2 separate regions of the Homo sapiens genome follow, and region 1 is linked to region 2. Evidence: promoter capture Hi-C in 16 types of primary human blood cells and fetal thymus (Javierre and others, 2016). All regions are on one chromosome and are shown on one strand. Each heading gives the region's core, a stretch centred on a gene start or on the middle of the fragment in contact. The rest is flanking DNA. Distances are from core to core; before and after follow the strand shown. Region 1 overlaps FANCG (FA complementation group G). Region 2 holds the start of SPAG8 (sperm associated antigen 8).

The links. Contacts are between HindIII fragments. The CHiCAGO score rates a contact against its expected background, and 5 or more counts as called.
Region 1: a fragment that was not itself captured here is called in contact with the fragment with the promoter of SPAG8 in region 2 in 1 of 17 cell types (non-activated CD4 T cells); the score reaches 6.2 in non-activated CD4 T cells.

What each region holds. Positions count from the first base shown.
Region 1 is chr9:35,076,052-35,078,551 of GRCh38, forward strand. It overlaps FANCG (FA complementation group G), which reads right to left. Exons shown (of 14, transcript NM_004629.2): 4 at 2,090-2,292; 5 at 1,213-1,348; 6 at 920-1,050; 7 at 673-819; 8 at 381-532. Among named protein-coding and RNA genes, the nearest start is that of FANCG, 2.6 kb to the right of the region's middle. The HindIII fragment of the contact is 2,719 bases long and covers 1-2,500 here.
Region 2 is chr9:35,809,210-35,814,268 of GRCh38, forward strand. SPAG8 (sperm associated antigen 8) reads right to left here and starts at 3,053. Exons shown (of 7, transcript NM_001039592.2): 1 at 2,895-3,053; 2 at 1,973-2,792; 3 at 1,674-1,848; 4 at 1,428-1,473; 5 at 1,230-1,344; 6 at 1,038-1,100; 7 at 586-923. The coding sequence starts at 2,938. The coding sequence ends at 729. HINT2 (histidine triad nucleotide binding protein 2) reads right to left here. Exons shown (of 5, transcript NM_032593.3): 2 at 4,435-4,575; 3 at 4,236-4,340; 4 at 4,057-4,129; 5 at 3,751-3,936. The coding sequence ends at 3,845. It overlaps NPR2 (natriuretic peptide receptor 2), which reads left to right. Exons shown (of 22, transcript NM_003995.4): 21 at 1-38; 22 at 171-522. The coding sequence ends at 236. RefSeq lists enhancers at 2,571-3,127, 2,822-2,871. The HindIII fragment of the contact is 1,537 bases long and covers 2,034-3,570 here.

The sequences.
Region 1 (2,500 bases), core at 1-2,500, 730 kb before region 2:
CTCACCCTAGGCCCTAGCAGGGAACCTGCAAGGGTCCTGAGAATGTTCTCTCTTAGCTAACAGATGGATGTTCATGGGCCCTGAGGAGGAGAAAGGGAGGGAAGGTCTTAGGGCTCCAATTTTGGCTCAGTATGGATCTACCCCAGTTACAGAATGGACTGGGGAAGAGACTTCAGAGTGTCAAAGATAGAGAAGGTTAATGTCTTAGAGAAGAGTCCTCAGTTCAGGTCTAGAAGCAAGGTAAGAGGCTGAGGAGTGGCGACCTATGTCCTGCCACTGCCTCATTCATCCCCCAAGTCACAAGAACAAAAGCAGAGTCACACCCCAGGGGAGGCATCAGAAGTGGGAAGAGAAGCTCAGGTGAGCAAGGGGAACCTCACCTCCCCGTCTGTAGGCACCTGCTTGCTAGTATGTGCTTGGTCTGGCTCTGAGTGCCACAATGAAGGGGTGAGGCTAGGTCAGGTGGTGGCAGTAGTAATTCTACCTCAATGAGAAACTGCGGGGCTTTGGAACTGCATGGGACATTCAAGGCCTAAAAGAGAAAGAAAAAAATTGTATCTATAATCTTTGGGAGCCATACTTCCTTATACTTGGATCTTGACTAGTCAAGTCACCCCATCACAAGCACCTCAGGAATCCTCCACCCCACATCTTCACCTGGCAGTTCCCTACCTCAACTAGCAGCTCCAGACTCTCCAGCTCTGCTGTTGTGTCCCCCAGTTGCTGATAGAGCCTAGAGGCCTCCAGAAGTGGAGGACCCCAGGCTGATCCCTCTTTCAGGGCTGCAACCAAGTACAACAGTGCTCTCTGTGGATTTCCCTAAAGGGATAGGAGGACACGGGCCTCAGCTACCCTTACAAAGCAAAAAGCTATACATAATGCTTGTGGTTTCCCCAATCCACCCTAGGACTGTCTTTACCATCTTACGGTGACAGGACCCCAGTGCTGTGTACACCTGGACCAACACAGGCCGTGGACACAGGCCTGAGGCCGCTTCATGAAGGCTGCTTAGTGCCTTGTCTGGGTTCCCTGTGATCAGCTCCTGGAGACCTGAGGACAGTCAGGGTGTGAGCTTGGAGAGGGCTATAGAGCAGGGGTCATGATGGGGAACAAGGGTCTAAGAAGCCCATGGAACTGAATGGGACAAGAGAGAGGGCATGAGTCTGGAGGACCACTTAAAGGTAGAAGAGATGAGTCAGGTTGCTAGCTGACCTTGGCGGTAGGCAAATGCTGTCAGGAGGACATCCTTCAATCCCTGGGCATCCTGCAGGGTCAATGGAGCATCTAATTCCTCAGCTGGGGGACTCCAAGTTTTCAGAAGTAACAGCAGATCCTTAGAGGCTCCACTCTGGGGAAAGAAGGACAACCAGAAGCTCCAAGCCTACAACCTCCTCGTCTTCTCCTATCTCCATCTATCCTGGCTAGACCTTGAGCTCAAGGGTCCTCTTGATCCTTGAGGACACAGGCCTCAGCTACCCTTACAAAGCAAGAAGCTATGCATAATGCCTGTAGTTTCCCCCAATTCTAAGAGATAGATAGCTATGAGGCAAGAATTAAAAAAAAGGAAGAAAAACCTGGGGCAGTGATGATCTATTCCAGCGTGCCTCCTCACTCAGGGCAAGGACCATATTTGAGTTACTAATAAGGAGACTAAGGCTGAGAGCTGACTTGAGCAAGATCACAAGAGCCCTATCCCTATCCAAAAAAAAATTTTTTTTTTTTTTGAGACAGGGTCTCCCTCTGTCACCCAGGCTGCAGGGCTGGAGTGCAGTGGCGTGATCATAGCTCACAACTCACTGTTGCCTCCACCTCTTGGGTTCAAGTGATCCTCCTACCTCAGCCTCCCAAAGTGCTGAGATTACAGGTATGAGCCACCATGCCTGTCCAATTTTTAAAAAACACTCCTAAGAGAATCCCCACAATGAGAGACCAACCAGGGCAAGGTCACCCAAGAGTCCCAGAGAGAATCCAGGTTTTCCGACCACCAACCCAGCCGCCTGTCCAGTACATGATGATGCTACTGCAGCTGGAGAGAAAGGAGGAGGAAGGAAGGAGGAGACCCTCAGCTTCAGGTCACTTTCCCTATTACCTGGCTGCCATTCAGGGTCTCTAGTAACAAGGCCAGGTCCCCAAGACGGTCAGCACTCAACCAGAGGGCAGCCTGCAGGCCAACCAGGCGGTGCAGGGCAGACAGCAGCTCCGGCAGAAGGCAGGAAGCACGAAGGACAGAGTCCCACAGCTCCCTGAGCCCCTGTTCCAACCTGGGCCCCTGCTGCTCCTGTGTCTCCAGCACTGTAGAGTATACACACACACATAGACACACACACAGCTGAAGTAGCACCTCATCCTCCATCTCCCCACACACTCTGGCTTTCCTCTCCTGCAGGACCCCAAAGGTCACAATAATAATACCTCAACCTGGTCTGAAGAGCACAGAGAAGGGCACCTCTCTCCATGGAGGTGACAGATGTTGTTTATCCTCCCATCTCCCTGCAATAAC
Region 2 (5,059 bases), core at 1,803-4,302:
GCTTCCAGCTAGAGCTTCGGGGGGATGTGGAAATGAAGGTGATGGCAGGCCATGGGGAGGGGGGCATGGAAAGGGAGGGTGAAAGTGATTATGGGAATCATAGGGAAAGAGAGGGAGACAAAGGGACTAACATCGAAGCATCTGAATCATGTCCACTCTCCCACTTCCAGGGAAAAGGAAAGATGCGAACATACTGGCTCTTAGGAGAGCGGAAAGGACCTCCTGGACTCCTGTAAACCCCCATTCTTTCCAAGTCAGATAGTCTTCTGCTGCTGGTACCTGGGTGGGCAATGGCCACCATGTCTGCACACACCAGAAATGGACATTTTCATATGCAATGGAAAACAGCCACAAAAAAACCTACCTTATATGGAAGTTGTAGCCCTCTGCAGCTCAGCCCTGTACATATACCTGTCCCTCTCTGGCTTGGTCCCCTTCCTCCCTACTTTCTGTAAATATCTGTATCTAAACCAGAATATTTTGGTCAAATATAAAACAATAATAAAAAAAGTTCTGATGTCATAGTGTGGGATAGGGGCAATCCCAAGGAAAGGTTATGGGGTATGCACACAGTGACTCACAGAATCACTAAATTAGCAGTCTTGGGATGAGAGAGAACCCTTTATGTAAAGCCTCTTCAAGTACAGTGAGAATTAACTTCCTCCCGACCTCTCTAGTGCAGACAGAAATAGATTCCATATTCCATACCCCACTTCCCTCCTCACCCCTCAGAAAGGAGTCATTCTCCCCCCTCCACCACCCAGCCTTCCTCCGGGACAGGGAAGGGAAGATATTTCTCCCAATTGGTAGGGGTAATTCTCAGGTTCATAGGGCAAAAGTTTCCCCAGAGACAAGGGTACTGGTGTTGAGAAGCTGCAGTTCTTCCGGAATGGTGTGTCCAATGTCCTGATGTTACTGACACCCTGGAGGAGTGCCAGGATGAGGATGGATCCCACTCTCCCCAAGCCAGAACAAAACAACTCTGCCCTACCTTTCCTGCCCCGCTCTGCCCCCAACACCTAGTCACCCTCACACACCGGCAGCTGTGGTGCCCTCTGTATCCAGAAGGTCTCAGGTTGCTCCTGGCGGTAGTCGTGAGGCTGTGAGGGAGGGTACTGAGTAACTCCTGGCCTTCAGCCCTCTCTCTCAACCTCTGGGCTTGGTACTTGGCCACAGCCTGTCAGAGCCCAGCTGGTGCAAGTGGCGGGGGATGGGGGGTGGGTTCTCACCTTTGTTGGGGCAGGAGTCCCTGCTTGTGCCAGCTCCATTCGGTAGTCATGGTGTGTCACAGACTCAACCTCGAAGAGCTTCCTTGTGGGTTCCTGTTCTGCCTGCACCTCTTTACTATGTAGCCCGAGGGGTGTCAAGGCCATTCTCACCCAATTTTTCTCCTCCCCATCCCTCTTCCCCTTTACCCAATCCCTTACCAGATCTGATGCTGCAGGAGCATCTCCAGCATGGCTTCACGCTTCCCTGTGAGAGAGTTGGGGGGTGGGCAAGGTGGGGTCTGGTTAAGAAGGAGGCCCAGAAGAAACTAACTTGAGAAAAGGAAGAAGAACCTTGGGGTTCCGCCCTTATATCCACTGGAGAATCCACAGCCCCACCAGAAATTCCTTCCTCTTCTTCCCTCTGAGTAATGGGCTCGTTCTGGCCTACCCTCTCACATTTCACACCTCGAAGTGGCCAATAGACGTTTCCTGGTGGCTGGTACGAGTCTTTCTGGGTGGTGCTGGAGGGCATGGGTGACTTTAGTTGCATAGTCAGCAGTCCCCGGTGTCCGTGTCGGAAGAAAAAACTCTCAGAGCCATCCTGCATGCTTGGGACTTGATCCAGGTGGTTGGTGGCTCTCTGTGGATCCCAAGTTGAATGACTATAATATCCCTTCTGGTACCCACCCTCATGTAAACTACTGCCTCCCCTAAGAAACTGAGGGCAGCCTTCAAGAAAAGGGAGCAGGCCAAAACTTTAATACCTCTTCCTCCCAGTTGTAGAGGAGGCACTGGCCCCGCGGCAAAGTTTCATAGCAAACCATAAGCTTCCCTTTAATGTCTGGGGGTTTCCATAGTCCTCGGGCACCCGGTTCTAAGACTTGCAAAAATTCCCAAGGTGGTTGTTTCTGGGGCTCCCAGGGGCAGTGCTGACTCCAGGAGGTATAGTTAGGGACCCGATCTGCCACCAGGTTTCTGAACCCTGGAGGAATACAGGGGCTGAGCTCAGAGTCAGGGCCAGTGTCTGGACCAGGCCCAGAGGCAGGACCAGGATGAGAGCCAGAGCCATGACCAGGACCAGAGCCAGGACCAGAGCCAGGACCAGGACCAGAGCCAGAGCCAGGGACAGAGCCACAGCCAGGACCAGAGCCAGAGCCAGAGCCATGGCCAGCACCTGAGCTGGAACCAAGAACAGGCCCAGAGCTAGAGCCTGGAACAGGGCCAGGATTAGAACTATGGTCAGTTGTAGTGCAAGTGTCCTGAGCAATACAGGAAACATAGACGGGCTCAAAGCCAAGACTCCCATGGGCTATATTGTGGGTAAAGCCGGGTCCCGCACAGGGCTCCCCAAGAAGGCTGGGGTCAGAGGACGGCTCCATGAACTCAGAACAGGGCGCTGGGGTCTTTGTAGATAATGCAGCTGCTTTGGCAGTGGTGAAGGCTGCAGTAGCTGCAGCAGCTGATGCAGCCGCTGCAGCTGCTGCGGTTGCAGCTGCCAGGGCCGACCTGGGACTGTCATCTGAAGAAGGAAACGGTTCCGAAGTGGGCCCCAGTCCTTCGGAGCTGGGCTGTATGTCTAAAGATCTGAAAGAAAGCAAACACGACATGGCTGTCAAAAGCGCAGCAGAGGAAGTCAGCTGACCTTCCTCGTCCCCTTATGCCTGCAGCCAGAGCTGCGGCTCTCACCGCGACCGCGACCGCGATCCCTCCGTAGACTCGTTGGTCTCCATCTTCAGACTCCAGCTACTGGGTTGCCATAGAGACAGCAAACAACTCCTGGAGCCTGCGCAGAAGTACAGCTGGGCGGACTTGCAGGTGGCGGTGGAGGCAAGTCCTCTGCGGGGCGGAAGTCTTCAGCCTAGTGCTGTTAGGGAGGTCCGCTTTCCGGTCCCGGCGGCATTCCGCCTCAGACGGGGTTTTAGGGTTCCGCTGGCTTAAGACCTCGCCCTCCACGTCCAAACAGTCTTTGCGTGCGGTTTTCTAAGATGATGCTTTATGGGGATATGTTGGAAACAGGCACAGGGTTGTGGCATTAGATTACAGCCTACTTGGTGTTTGCTGAGAGGCAAGTAGCTTCCCCTTAGTTTGCTTAGTTCATTCTCAAAAGTGAGTGGGGTCTTTAACAAATGTTAAGGATGAAAATAAACAAACTAGCTTGAGCAAAATGGTGAGACGTAGAATAGTGAAAAGGCAGCCGCTTTTGTTTGGGTGTGATTACTCCTCCTCTAATAAAAGACCCTCATATTGACCACCCTCCTCCTAAGCGCCCTTAGAACCTGGTTTGACCTCTGAAGAAGGGCCAGGATTGGCTTTCAGTTTCTTCCTACTCATTTAGGCTCATTCCTACTGTTACTTTTCTAGAAGCTTGACCTAGGGTGGACCACTTGTCAAGAAGACTTACATATCTGCAGGCAACATTTAACCACAGGTTGGACCTCCTCAGTGTCTTTCACTCAGACCAGTCAAGGGGCATCATAGCCCTGAATCAGTTTTCTTTCCCCTTTGTGGTATAAAATTTTATATTAAAGACAGGAGAGCATAATTAAGGGAGAACAGTTTTATTAGCATCACAGGGTCCATTTTTCCCTTTCCATCCAAGCATCCAGAGTCTGGTGTCCTTTAATCAGTTGGCAGGTTCAACCTGGAGGCCACTGGAGCTGCCGGCCCCCAAGTACATGAATGTGCAGATGATACACAGATTGTGCACCCAGCTTCCCATCGTTGATCACTGAAATTGAGCTTGGGGTTAGGGAGTCAGGATCATGGCAGAGGTCGAAGAATGAAGATCATATTGAGAAGTAGGAATGAGAATTCATAGGTGAGGGACCAAGGGCCAAAAGTCACTCACCAAGTCGGTATCCATCTCCCAGGCCCTCAGCCTTTGCTGTCTGCTTGGCCACAAGGAGTAGGTGTCCTAGAAGCTATAGAGAGAGCGGAGGGACATAGGTGGCTTCATTCATAGGGAGCAAGACCTCTAGCTGGGTCCAGGGGCTCCTCCCAGCCAAACCCTGGCCCTGTTCTTCCCACCTGCTGGTCTTCTTCTTCAGCCTGGCTAATCCGAGGAATGGGCTTCTTAGGAATGACCAGGAAGTGCACAGGAGCCTGAGGGGCCACATCACGGAACACAAGACACTGGGGGAAGTGACAGGCCAGAGGCCACGTTACTTCAACAGGTTGGATGGTATCTACAACATTCCTAAGGGGATAGGTCCTAAGAGCACCCCACCTGCTGGTCCTCATAGAGAATGTCAGCTGGGAGGCTCTTGTCCAGGATCCGGGAGAAGATGGTTGGGGCTGCTCCCCCAGGAGTTGCCTGCTGGGCCTTGGCCACTTCATTCCCATCAGTCACACCTGCAGCTCCTCGGACCTGAAGGTGGATCGACCATATTCAAAGGAGGGAGCTGGCAGAAGCTGGGCTCTGATAGTTGTTAATTTCGTCCTTCTAATAACCTATTCATCGTTCCCACCCAGGAGGAAAGTTCCTGAATTTCAGAGCACCAGCAGCAAAGGGTAGGGCCAGAAGGTGCTGGACCTGGTTAGATAACAGGCGGTATTATTATCAGGATTCAGCAGTGCAATTGATTCCTGCTCATGTGTCCACGAAATATAGCACTGTTTAGGGAAAGGATCTAGAATGAGAGACTGGGGATTTTGGTCTCAGTTCCTACCTTACCATACCACTGAATTACCTCAGATAAATTCCTTCTCTCAGCTTCTAATATAAAATAAAGGGATGGTTTCCATAATCTCTTGCGATGGCTTGAATCTCTTTCCACTCTCACCTTGTTAGTACATTTCCACTTATTTCCGTTACTTGTTTTCTGATCTTTAAGCCTTGTCGCCTGTTTTAT